4 separate regions of the Homo sapiens genome follow, and all the other regions are linked to region 3. Evidence: promoter capture Hi-C in human tissues and cell types (Jung and others, 2019). All regions are on one chromosome and are shown on one strand. The core of a region is centred on a gene start or on the middle of the fragment in contact, and the rest is flanking DNA. Distances in the headings are between cores, read along the strand shown. Region 1 holds the start of SHC3 (SHC adaptor protein 3). Region 2 overlaps SHC3 (SHC adaptor protein 3). Region 3 holds the start of S1PR3 (sphingosine-1-phosphate receptor 3). Region 4 has its middle 15 kb from the start of MIR4289.

Region 1 (2,990 bases), core at 142-2,641, 190 kb after region 3:
GAAAACCTGGACTGGGTGAGAAAGTAAAGCCCGTCGAAGAGAAAGCAGCACAGCATTTGGCCTGCTCTGCAAGGAGCTGGGAATTCTTGCTGCGGGGGGCAACAAGATACCCACCCTCCCGCCGGGGAAGACACAGCAGGAGTAGGGCCGCCACTCCGTGCATCTCTCCTCCCGGGGGCTGCCCAGCTCTCCCCAGCGCGTTTCCTAGATACTAGGCAGGCCGGACCCCCGCTGCCCAGGGTTGGGCGCCCATGACACTGGTCAGACATCTGGTAAGCCAGGTGGCAAAGGCGTGCCAAAAAAGTGGAGCCTAGGGAAAACCGGGACGGAGCGGGCCACCCGAGTGGTAAACCTTTTCCCAATGGATGCGGGAAAAGCGCATTTGTAGTTCCCTCCTCACCGCTGTCAAGCGAGCTGATTGCTAAGGAGTGCGCATTTGCTTGCCTCTAACGTGACAGTCGCGGGAGCGCCCCGCACCCCGGGCTTCAGGGAATGAAGGAGTCTGCCCCGAACTGGCCCCAGAACCCCCAGCCCCCAGGGCGGCCCGCGCCCGCACCCACCTTGACCACGTAGGTGACTCCGGGCCCCAGCACCTGGTCGCTGGCGTGCGGCGCCCCCCGAGGGGGCCTGGGCAGCGGCTCGTCGCCGGGCCGGCCCTTCCTGGCGGCGCTCATGGCCGGGGCGCGGGGCGCCGAGGGCGCACTGCCGTCCGGGGCGGCCAGGCTGGGCGCGCTGCAGCTGCCCGAGAGCCGCGCGCCCGCCCGCTCCCGGGCGGCCGACGACAGGCCGCGGAGGCCCGAGCTGGAGAGTTTCAGGTGGGACACCTTGTGGAGCAGGTGGCCCAGGCTGCCGGGCCCATCGTCGGGCGCCTTGCGCAGCGCCTCGCCGGACACCAAGTAGGGAGCCGCCGCCGGGGTCGCGCGCGCCGCCGAAACCTTGCCTCCGCCGCCGCTCACCGACAGGCTGTGGAGAAGGTCATCGACCGATGTCACCGAGTCATTCCTGAAGCGGTTATACTTGGTGCGTGGAAGCATGCCCCTCCGTGGGCTCGCTGCATCCGCCCGGGCGCTGCTGGTGCCGGCCCCGGCGCGGGCTGCCGCGCATAGCAGGCGAGCCACTGTCCCCGGAGCGGGACGGAGAGTGGGGGCCCCGGGACAGCCTTCTGGAGAACGAGAGCAGAGCAAGAGGATGGTGCCCTCCCACCGTTAAAAGCCAGCACAGCGGCGGCCGCGCAGCCCCGGCCCGGGAGACCGCTGCTTGGGGTTGCACGTTTGCTTTGCAAAAGTCATAGTTGCCTCTGATGGAGCGCCCAGCTGCTTGGGGCTGCTCACAGCAAAAGCATGACTCACTCTGAGAGGAGACCCTTCTCAACAAAGGCTCGGTGAGCACTGCAAATCACTTCCTGTAGCAGAAGAAAAAAAAGGAAAAAAAGAAGAAAAAAACGACATCCACCCGCTGACAGCACACTATAGCCAATCAATTCTCAAATTTCCTTTTTCTACCTTCCCAGATATTTCCTTCCAACCTTTGATTTTTCACCTTCCCATCCCCCGCAATCTGCATTTGTGCCAAAGGTAAATCCAATCCAGTTCCTTCAAATCGTCAAATGAACTTTCTGAAACCCATTATTCTGTTAGGTTTTGCTCGTCCCTGCTCAGCCCATCTGTGTGAGCCTGTAAAAGTGTCTAACAGCGATGCGTTAAAATGTGACGAAGGCTTTTTAAGAATCAGATCTTCAGCGAATCCTGATGAATCTTGACTTGGAAGGCAGCAGGAATTTTTAAATAGAAAAAAACAAAAAGGATATTCACCCCCAGGTGACTGTAAAATACCAATTTCCTGGGTTTTGCTTTTTCTTTTCAAATTAACAGAGCAGCGATGACAAGTGTCTTTGTGGCAATGCAGTTCCTCAAAAAAAAAAAAAAAAAAAAATCTGCATATGAACTTCTGCACAGTGCCAATCAAGGGGTCTTCCCTGCTCATTTACAGCAGTCTTTCTCAGCCAGGGTTAAGTTGAATATCCACTTCCAAAAAAGAAGAGTGCTTCTTTCACGAGTGGCAACAGGCTCCAGAAATCCATTCCAAAAAAGGGGCTGCATTTGAAGCTTTAATCCTACTGAATGTGTTTAAGCTCTGGAAAAACGCCTAAGAAATGCTACAAATACATTTCAATGTTCCTTCAGTTGCTGCTTGCAACCCTGCAGTCAGGAAGGAAAAAATGCAGCTGTTCTTATTGCACATCAAATCCACAAGGAGGAAAATATGCCTTCTTTTCAGGAGTCAGGCTCGGGCTTGCAAGTAAAATGCACAGGCCTTCTTCCTCTCAGTTAGGAGAGCAAGGCTTTCGCTGTCCCCAGAGGTCTGCCCGAGACTGAAGCCCTCTGACTCTTGACCTCAGTGGGCTCTGCCAGGCTTCCTCATGCATTAGGATCACCTGCTCCACAGTGAAACACTCACTATCAAAGTTTTCCCGCAACTTCTGAGCAAGCGAATAAATTCAGCTCTAGCACACTCTCAGGTCACCCTGAGTCCTCTCACTCCCATGACCGAACATGTGGGGCACGTGAGGTCCTGAGTCTTGAACCCTGCTCTATGGAGCAGAGTTTAATGAGCGCCACTCATGGCGGGCGAGCGGGTGAGGCCAACCCCTAGGACGCAAGAGCGCAGAGGAGCCGCGGCGTCCCCGGTACAGGAAACGCGTCCCCACGGCTCGCCTCCTGTGCCGCAGCCCTAGCAGAACAGCTACACGGCACTCATTTGTTCCCTTTCCCTAGCTTGCATAGCAACAGCAATTGCACACCCCATAGATGATTTTGATGGTTATCAGAGTCCTCCCCAGATCTGTAGCGAAACAGCCCTATCATTCCCAAAGCGAGATCTTCATTAGATGCAGACAAAAACCGCAAAATGTGAATGAAATGCTGTTTGTGTGAATGAAAAGGCTAGCGAGCGAGCCAGCGTTTCTGTGAATGAAGCAGGGCCTTGCAGCC
Region 2 (2,953 bases), core at 416-2,915, 150 kb after region 3:
ACCAGAGTTGGGAAAGATTAGTCATAGATGTCACCCTTTGTAGACTCTGATGCTTCTCGCCTTGCCCTGGGAAGCCGTGAGCTGCCAGCTACAGAGACTTGGGGGACAAAGAACATGCATCTGAGGGCAAGGGTGACAGCAGATCTGTCCTACTGGTGGAGAGAGCTCCCAATCCAGACCCTAAGAGAGGGTTCTTGAATCTGCACAAGAAAGAATTTGAGGCAAGTCCATAGAACTACGTGAAAGCAAATTTATTAAGAAAGTAAAGGAATAAGAGAATGGCTACTCCATAGGCAGACCAGGCCCAAGGGCTGCTGGTTGCCCATTTTTATAGCTATTTCTCAATTATATGCTAAATAAGGGGTGGTTTATTCATGCCTCCCCTTTTAAGACCATATAGGGTAACTTCCTGACATTGCCATGGCATTCGTGAACTGTCATGGAGCTGGTGGGAGTGTAATAGTGAGGACAACCAGAGGTCACTCTCATTGCCATCTTGGTTTTGGTGGGATTTAACCAGCTTCTTGACTGCAATCTGTTTTATCAGCAAGGTCTTTATGACCTGTGTCTTGTGCCAAACTCCTGTCTCATCCTGTGACTTAGAATGCCTAACCGTCTGGGAATCCAGCCTAGCAGGTTTCAGCCTCATTTTATCCAGCCCCTATTCAAGATGGAGTTGCTCTGGTTCAAATGTCTCTGACATTTCCCCTCTCCCTTTTCTAAGAGAACCCTTAATCCTAAGGGTTGCGGAGGGATAAAGATCCATCTTCTGTAACTTCTTCAGGATGATTAGAGGTGATGATATTCCTGCCTATTAGGGTCTCTTATATTAGGCATAGAAAGGAGCTCTGTCAGGAGGCATCAGTATAGTAAGGGTGATTCATGACTCTTGAGTTCTGAGAAAAGGTGGTATCTGGAAGATTAATAAGTATTCAATTTAAGAAAACATTGAGTAAGCTTATCCTGCATTCCTACACGAAGAGTACAACAGTAATACATTCCACAGCAGTAAAGCAAAATAAGTACAATTATTTCAAGTAAACTAAACTAGAAGTCTTTCCATGAATTGGGAAACTGTTGGAACCAGGCTGATATGGGATTGTTAGCTGATTCTAATGCACCCAGAATTAGAATATTGATTTTATCCAGATGTTTTTTACATTACCCATCCCTCTTATTTCTTCTGAGCAGCAGTCAGAGATTGCTGGTTGGTTCACAGGAATGAGCCAGATCAGCCTAAGTTGAAGAAAAAACTCAAAAACAACCAATGAGACTAGAATCTAATAACAAGTGTACCATAGTTCTTGAAACATAATCTTTCTCTATCCAGTTTACCATTGTTACTAAGGACAAATCATGGTAAGACTGTTTTGCTTTATTACACTTGGCCTGATTATTTGTATAAAGTGCAGTAAGAATAATTATTTTTCACATAAGCTGTTTTTAAATTGGCTTTTGTGAAACTCTGTTCCATAGAAGGAATCTCAGATAAGACTTTTATAAAGCTGAGCCCTGCCATAGGTTTGTACCCTCAAATACCTATGAGTTGTGTCAATTCCTTTCCTTTTGAAATCCCAAGATAACTTGGGGCTCCTGGGCCTAAGATAAGTGCCATTCTTTACTTATCACACAGGTCAGGAATTCTGTACAGAGACTGCTGTAGACTAGGCATGAGGCCAGTTTCTTCAAGGGGCTTTTATTAGCTTTACAAATCAAGTTTGATTCCTTAAAGGAAAGAACACCATTACAGTCAAAGCGTTGGTAAAATTACCAGTTTCTCCAATTCTGTCCTATTGCAAAAGGGCTGATAAAGGCTGACTCTTGAGCCTAGCTAGGGAGCATGGCTCTCCATATGTCCCTAGGCCTTATTTAGAATCTAATGCTCTAAAGTAGGTAAATTGAACAATTTTCAAAACTTAAAGAAACAGTTTATTACCTTAAAGCATTTAGCAAGCCTAATATCTGACCTGAGTAATTTAGACCAAATGTTTAAATTTTGAAGACATTTTAATTTTACCAATAATTTTTAAAACTGTCATTTCTTGAAGAGTACTAAAGTCACATGAACTAAAAGCCATTAGACTTTTTACTTTTCTGACAAAATGCTTGATTTAAGCAGTCATTGTTTTTAAACCAATGAAAGCTTCTTTTTTATATCACAAACACACAACACACATAAATACATGACAGAAGAAGACCCAGTAGTTGTAAGATTTTTCATTTACCAGTTTCTTAATTGGATTACTGGCTTCAGGGTGGAGCCCAGAGCCAGGAAAGCATGCATTTTCTAGGGCTAATAAGCAGGGACAGCTGGAAGGCAAACAGATTCCCCCCCCCAGATTAAGGGTCCTGCTTTTATACCAGATCTTGGATCCCAAAAAGAAGGAATCAGCCCCTCCCCATGGAAGTCTTATCTCTCAGTGGCGGTGGTGGTGGGTGGGGGGGCGCATCTCCATACTTCCTAGGTGGCCAAGAGCATGTGTTTCTTATCCAAGCATGCACAGCTGAGTATTTCCCAATAACTGCCATTAGCCATCTCCAAAAGTATATTTCCTACCTAGTTATTACACACCAAATTCTCTCATAATGCAAAACAATTTCTGATACCTGCAAAAGTCAAAAACATCAGATACGGCAATGCAAAACAGAACAAAGCCTTAGATTTTGAGAGGAAACTAACTGCTTTTAATTCCTGGGGTTTCATGAGGAAAAAAAAGAGAATTTTCCCAAAACAGGGTCCGTGGCACTTCCTCTGTTTTTCTCCAGGAGTTCTAGGCTGTTAGTAATTATCTCAGGTTCTCTTATGTCGGCATTAACAGTGGCAAAAAGACAAAATGAAGAAAAACAGTTCAGTCGACTGAGGAGAAAAACTTTTTTCAGAAAGAACAAGATTCAAGAAGGGGAAAAAGATAAAGCCCTTTTAAATATATATAGTTTAGATATCCATATTTTA
Region 3 (3,093 bases), core at 427-2,926:
AGTATCCTAGCAGTAAATTTTTCATCACGGGAAGCAACTAATTGAACAGAGGTGTGATGAACCTACTGACCACTTTGGTAATATAGACACAGTGGCCACAGTATGCTGTATTGTTATCCTGGTTGTGACCAATGCCAAAGGAGCATGTTTCCTTCTTTTCTTGACTTGATGCTGTAGGAGTCCAACAAAGGGAAGCACATTCAGGCCCACATGAAACTTGGGACAGAAGTGGCTTCTCAGAGCCGTGCACCAGGCACTTTGAACAAGTTGGAAGGCTACAGTGCCGGAAGACTCCACAGTAGCACAGGCGAAGTGGCTTAGGCGAAAACGCTGGGAAGTACCCCAGCTCCCGGGGGCCAGAGCCTCTAGGGCTGGCAGCCTCAGCAGGCAGAGTCACTTGCCTCCTTCAGCTCAATTGCTGAGGGCTTGCGTTTCTCTGCAGGGAACAGGAGTGCCGCCGACTTCCACTCTTGGTGCCCTTCACCGCTCAAACTGCACCCCAAATAAGCGTATGCACCCTGCTCCAAGAGAAGGATGCGCTGGGCTGATCCTCTGGAGGCAAGAGGGCAAAAGACAGAAAGTAACGAGCGGCCTTTGCACAAACTCAACTCTCTGCAGCGGCCCCTGCGGCCCAATCCTGCCGGCCCAGGAATGCACGGTCGGATAACAGGCCTCTCCTTGCTTTTTCGTCTTCTTCCTCCCGCTTCTCTCCTCTCTCCTTTTCCTCCTCCTCCTTTTTCTTTAATTTTCTCCTTTCTCCCCAAGCTTCTACAGTTGTTTCTGTGTTCGCTCAATCATGGCCTTTGGCATTGATTGAAAATTTGGCAGTTCCTTCTCTCGGAATTCTGTTTGAAGCCTTCATATGGATTTATTATTATTATTATTATTTTTGCCACACAAAAGGGGCAAATCCGCGTGAGGAAGGGGGTCGCATGGGGGTCGGCTGAGATCTGCTGGCTGCCGGTCTAGGAGGGGCGCTGCTCTGTGCCGGAGTGGGCTCTGGTGCACCAGCAGAGGCTGGGGGAGAGTGCTGCCCCCGCCTGGAGCCCAAGTCTCTGCGTGCCTGGGGGTAGAGCGCGGAGAGGGACCAGGCAGGCGCCGGAGGGGACCCGCGCGGAAAAGGAAGAAGCCCAAACAAAAACGCTGTCCGGCGCCAGGCGCCCACCTGCAAGCCCAAGCCGGTGCTCGGCCAGTTACAAAAGAAATGGTCAGGATCTGGACAACGATAATGATAGTATTAATCCTCCTATTAAGAATCGGCCCAAACAAACCCTCGCTGTCAGGGCGACAGGCGCCCGCCCAAGCCCAGACCTCGGACCTGGTTCCAAGCCTGTTCCCGCTGGGTCTCTGGGCGCCCGGTTTCTGCACCTGGAGCTCGCCCGATGAGGACAAGGTCTGGAGGCCGGCCTGGGAACAGGGGCCGAAGGGCGAGCCGGACCCTAGGGGATTGGTAGGGTCGGGGAGAAGGGGTCCAGGCTAGGGGCGGGCGGGGCGCACGGAGACCAGGCGGCTTGAGCGGGAGGTGGGGAGCTGGAGGAGTGCCGGGTTCGCGGGCGGGGGACGGGGAGAGGGGGGCGGGGAGAGGGGCGGGAGTCGGGGGCGGCGAGGGGAGGGGCGGAGCGCGGGTCCCGCCCCGGCGGGCCGCTGGAAAAGTTTAGTCTCTGACTCGCTCGGGCAGAGGCCGAGGAAGCCGGTTCCGGGGACGGGCAACAGGGACTCAGGGACCAGAAGGCGGCTGCAGGACGCGACCGAGCAGGACCCCAGGCCCGGGAACGACGTCGCGAGCGCTGAGACTGCCGGGCCTCCCAGCCCATCTGGCATTCGAGCGCAGGACCGGGCGCCCCGGCACCGCCGCGCGCCACCCGCTAGGATGCCGGTGGCCCCAGCGCCCTCAGCCGACGGAGGTGAGAGGCGGGCCCGGGCGGGGCGCGGAACCAGGGTGGGGGGCTGGGGGCCGAAGGACCCACCTTTCCAACAAAATCCCCACCGATCCCGGGCGCGACGGGGACTTGGGCGCGCCACGGCGGCCGGAGCGCTCCACATCAGCACCCCTCCCCCAGAGCCGCTGCAGGAACAGGGAGGAGGCCTTTTCCACCGCACCCGGAGCGTTTACAACGGGCTGGAGCTGAATACCTGGATGAAAGTGGAGAGGCTGTTCGTGGAGAAGTTCCATCAGTCGTTTTCCTTGGACAATTAACAAGTTAGGCTTCCACAGTGCCAGGGCCTGGGGATGCTGGACGTGGGAGAGGGTTGTGGTCGTTAGCCTGGGAAAATCATTCTTTTAAACAATATTCGCCGGAAAATTAGTTTTTTCCTAACATTTCTCAAACAAGGCAATTAGGGCCGTCAGAATCGGTGCTGGAAGACGAAGTCCCCACAGTGCAATAATGAGGTTCCCACGGAAAATCAGTACGTTGTGTTCGTAACTGAGATAACAGCTAGAGAAGGGGCTTTGGGCTTTTTGAGTCTCCCAATAGTCAGTCTCTCTCTCTCTCTCTCTCTCTCTCTTCCTCTGACTTTCTGGCTTTGGACACTCCCAATGGTATATTTCTTTGTGGTGTTTTTATATTTGGATATAAGAGAGGAACTTCTTGTTGGATTTTTAAGGGAACACACTTCGTTTTGACCCTTCCAATAAGGAAAGGGGAGCTACAGGAACAGAGAGCTCTTTAGAAGGTTACTTTTAAATGGAGGCCCCCCCATTCATGGTACCCACTCCCACTTGGACCTCTGAGACCTCCAGAATTAGGCATCATTCTAAAATCTGGACATTAGAAGTCACAGACTTTGTATATAACCACATATTCATAATTTATCTTTTCAATGTTTTTTATTCATAGATGAAAATCTTGCAGGCATAGTTAAGAAAAATATAATTCCTAGAAAGTACAAGGGAAGGATTATGCTCTGCAGATACATGACTAACAAGGATAGCTGGCCATGCCCAGGGCTGGTGTTGGTTGAGGAGGTGGTGATGGTGCGGGGCATGTGTGTGTGTGTGTGTGTGTGCGCTTGAGGAGTTGTGGAAGTGTTCATATCTGTAAAGTATTATTTCATGGATGCAGACCTTAATGCTAGGTTGAATAACTTTGT
Region 4 (2,937 bases), core at 199-2,698, 230 kb before region 3:
GGGAGTGTTGAGTTGCATTTCTGAGCTGGGTTATAAATGGCACTAATCAGCACAAGGTAGACTTGGCATTTCCTGAAAGCTCCACAGCGGCCTTTTTTGGGGGTTGGGGGACATTCAACATTCTACTGCGGAGAGCTGCAGCAGACCATGCCGTCTGGAATAATTACAATGAAAAGACACAGATTGGCAGAATGGATAAAAAACCATGGCCCTACTGTGTGCTCTTTATGAGACACTTACTTCACATTCAATTACACAGATAGGGTGAAAGTAAAAAGAGGGAAAAAGGTATACTATGAGAACATTAATTTTAAAAAAGACAGAAATGGCTACATTAGTATCCAATAATATAGATTTCAGAAGAAAGAAAATACCTAAAGACACAGAGGGATATTACATAAAGATGAAAGGGTCAATCTACCAGAAAGACATAACAATTCTTAATGTGTATACAAACAACAACAGAGACTAAAGTACATGAAGCAAAAAACTGACAGAGCTGAAACGAGAAATAGACAAACTCACAATTATGGTTGGGGACTTCAATGCAACCTTCTGATCAACTAACAGAAGTACTAGAAGAAGATCAGCAAAGATACAGAAGATTTGAAAAGCATAATCAACCAATAAGATCTAATTGGCACATAGATTATACTTCACCCAACAGTAGCTGAATACACATTTTTAAGTGCTCATGACCATTCACAGACCGTATCCTGACCAAAAACAAGTATCAAAAAAAATTTTTATTTTTTTTATTTTAAATTTTACTTTAAGTTCTAGGATACATGTGCAGAATGTGCAGGTTTGTTACATAGGTATACATGTGTCATAGTGGTTTGCTGCACCTATCCACCCGTCATCTCGGTTTTAAGCCCCGTGTGCATTAGGTATTTGTCCTAATGCTCTCCCTCCTCTTGCCTCCCACCCCCTGACAACCCCTGGTGTGTGACATTCCCTCCCTGTGTCCATGTGTTCTCATTGCTCAACTCCCACTTATGAGTGAGAACATGCAGTGTTTGGTTTTCTGTTCCTGTGTTAGCTTGCTGAGAATCATGGTTTCCAGCTTCATCCATGTCCCTGCAAAGGACATGAACTCACTCTTTTTTTATGGGTGCATAGTATTCCATGATGTGTATGTGCCACATTTTCTTTATCCAGTCTATCATTGATGGGGATTTGAGTTGGTTCCAAGTCTTTGCTATTGTAAATAGTGCTGCAATAAACATATGTGTGCACGTGTCTTTTTAGTAGAATGATTTATAATCCTTTGGGTATACACCCAGTAATGGGATTGCTGGGTCAAATGGTGTTTCTGATTCTAGATCCTTGAGGAATTGCCACACTGTCTTCCACAATGGTTGAACTAATTTACACTCCCATCACCAGTGTAAAAGCATTGCTATTTTTCCACAGTCTTGCCGGCATCTGTTATTTTCTGACTTTTTAATGAGCATCAAAATTTTTTAAAGAATTAAAGAGTATGATTATCTGAGCATAGTGGAATCAAGCTAGAAATTAATGACAATAAATGAAGGAAAATCTGTAAACATGTGGAAATTAAACAATATGCTTCTAAATAACCCATAAATTAAAGAGAAAGTCTCAAAGAAAATTAAAAAAATGGTAGAATGGAATGACATATTCATGTGAAAATACAGCAAATAAAAATATGTGAGATGTAGCTAAAACAGTGTGGGAGGAAAATTTATATCACTAAATGCTTACGTTAGAAAAAAGTAAGTCTCATGTTATAAATCTAAGTTCCTACCTCAAGAAACTGAAAAGAAGAGCAAAATAAACTAAAAGCAAACAGAGGAAGGAAACAATAAAGATCAAAGCAGAAATGAATGAAATTGAAAATAGGAAAACAATAGAAAAAGCTAATAAGACCACAAGCTATTTTAAAACAAATAATAAAATTGATAAATCTCCAGCAAGAGGTTTCACTAATATCAGGAATGAAATGGAGGAATAACCCTGAAGATCCTACAACCATGAAAAGGATTATAAAGATAATAAGACAATACTATGAACAACTTGATGTTCATATAAATATGAATATTTAGGAGAAATGGACCAATTCCTTGAAAATCTAAACTCAGCTAACATGAAACAGATAATCTGAGGAGTCCTATAATGATTACATGAATTCTTAATTGAAAACCTCCTGAAAAAGGCTGGTCCAGGTGCTTTCATGGGATACTTCTCCTAAATATTTTAAGGTGAATTAACAACATTTTAATACAATTTCTTCCAGAAGACAGAAGAGTAGGGAACACTTATTTTATTAGGTCAATATTACTCTATTACCAAAACCAGAGAAAGACATTTCTAAAATAGAAAACTACAAAACAATATCTCTTGTGAATTTACCTCAACAAAACATTAGCAAATAAAATCCAACAATATATAAAAGAAATTATATACTGTGACCAAATGGGATTTAATCCAGGTACAAAAGGCTGGTTCAATGTTCTAAAGTAAATATAATCTACCATATCAACAAGGCAAAAAAGAAAAATCATATGATCATATCAGTTGATACAGAAAAGGTATTTGACAAAATTCAGCATCTATTTTTTGATAAAACTCTCTCTCAGCAAGATTAGGATGGAGTGGAACTACCTGAACTGGATAAAGACTATTAACAAAGAACCTATAGGGAACATCATACTTTGTAGTGAAAGACTAACTTCTTTTTCCCTAAGACTGGGAGCAAGGCAAGACTGTCGATTCTCACTACTTTTATTCAGTATAGTACTGGAAATTTTAGATGGTGAAAGAAGGCAATAAATAGATAAATAAACAAACAAACAAACAAATAAATAAATAAATAAATGGCATACCAATTCTAAAGGAAGAAATGAAATCATCCCTACTTGTGAGTGACATGATTATCTATGTAGACAACATAAAGGAATCTACAAAATAAAT

What was found. Contacts are between HindIII fragments. The study calls those that stand out against the background at their distance.
Region 1: the fragment with the promoter of SHC3 here is called in contact with the fragment with the promoter of S1PR3 in region 3 in 1 of the 25 tissues and cell types used here (IMR-90 fibroblasts).
Region 2: a fragment that was not itself captured here is called in contact with the fragment with the promoter of S1PR3 in region 3 in 4 of the 25 tissues and cell types used here (heart left ventricle, heart right ventricle, mesenchymal stem cells and 1 more).
Region 4: a fragment that was not itself captured here is called in contact with the fragment with the promoter of S1PR3 in region 3 in 6 of the 25 tissues and cell types used here (IMR-90 fibroblasts, bladder, heart left ventricle and 3 more).

Annotation. Positions count from the first base shown.
Region 1 is chr9:89,177,427-89,180,416 of GRCh38, forward strand. SHC3 (SHC adaptor protein 3) reads right to left here and starts at 1,392. Exons shown (of 12, transcript NM_016848.6): 1 at 561-1,392. The coding sequence starts at 1,034. The HindIII fragment of the contact is 9,677 bases long and covers 1-2,990 here.
Region 2 is chr9:89,138,008-89,140,960 of GRCh38, forward strand. All of the region lies in intron 1 of SHC3 (SHC adaptor protein 3), which reads right to left. Among named protein-coding and RNA genes, the nearest start is that of SHC3, 39 kb to the right of the region's middle. The HindIII fragment of the contact is 4,407 bases long and covers 1-2,953 here.
Region 3 is chr9:88,989,792-88,992,884 of GRCh38, forward strand. It overlaps S1PR3 (sphingosine-1-phosphate receptor 3), which reads left to right and starts at 1,677. Exons shown (of 2, transcript NM_005226.4): 1 at 1,677-1,904. RefSeq lists a silencer at 1,223-1,517. The HindIII fragment of the contact is 13,055 bases long and covers 1-3,093 here.
Region 4 is chr9:88,759,573-88,762,509 of GRCh38, forward strand. No RefSeq gene overlaps it. Among named protein-coding and RNA genes, the nearest start is that of MIR4289, 15 kb to the left of the region's middle. The HindIII fragment of the contact is 3,626 bases long and covers 1-2,937 here.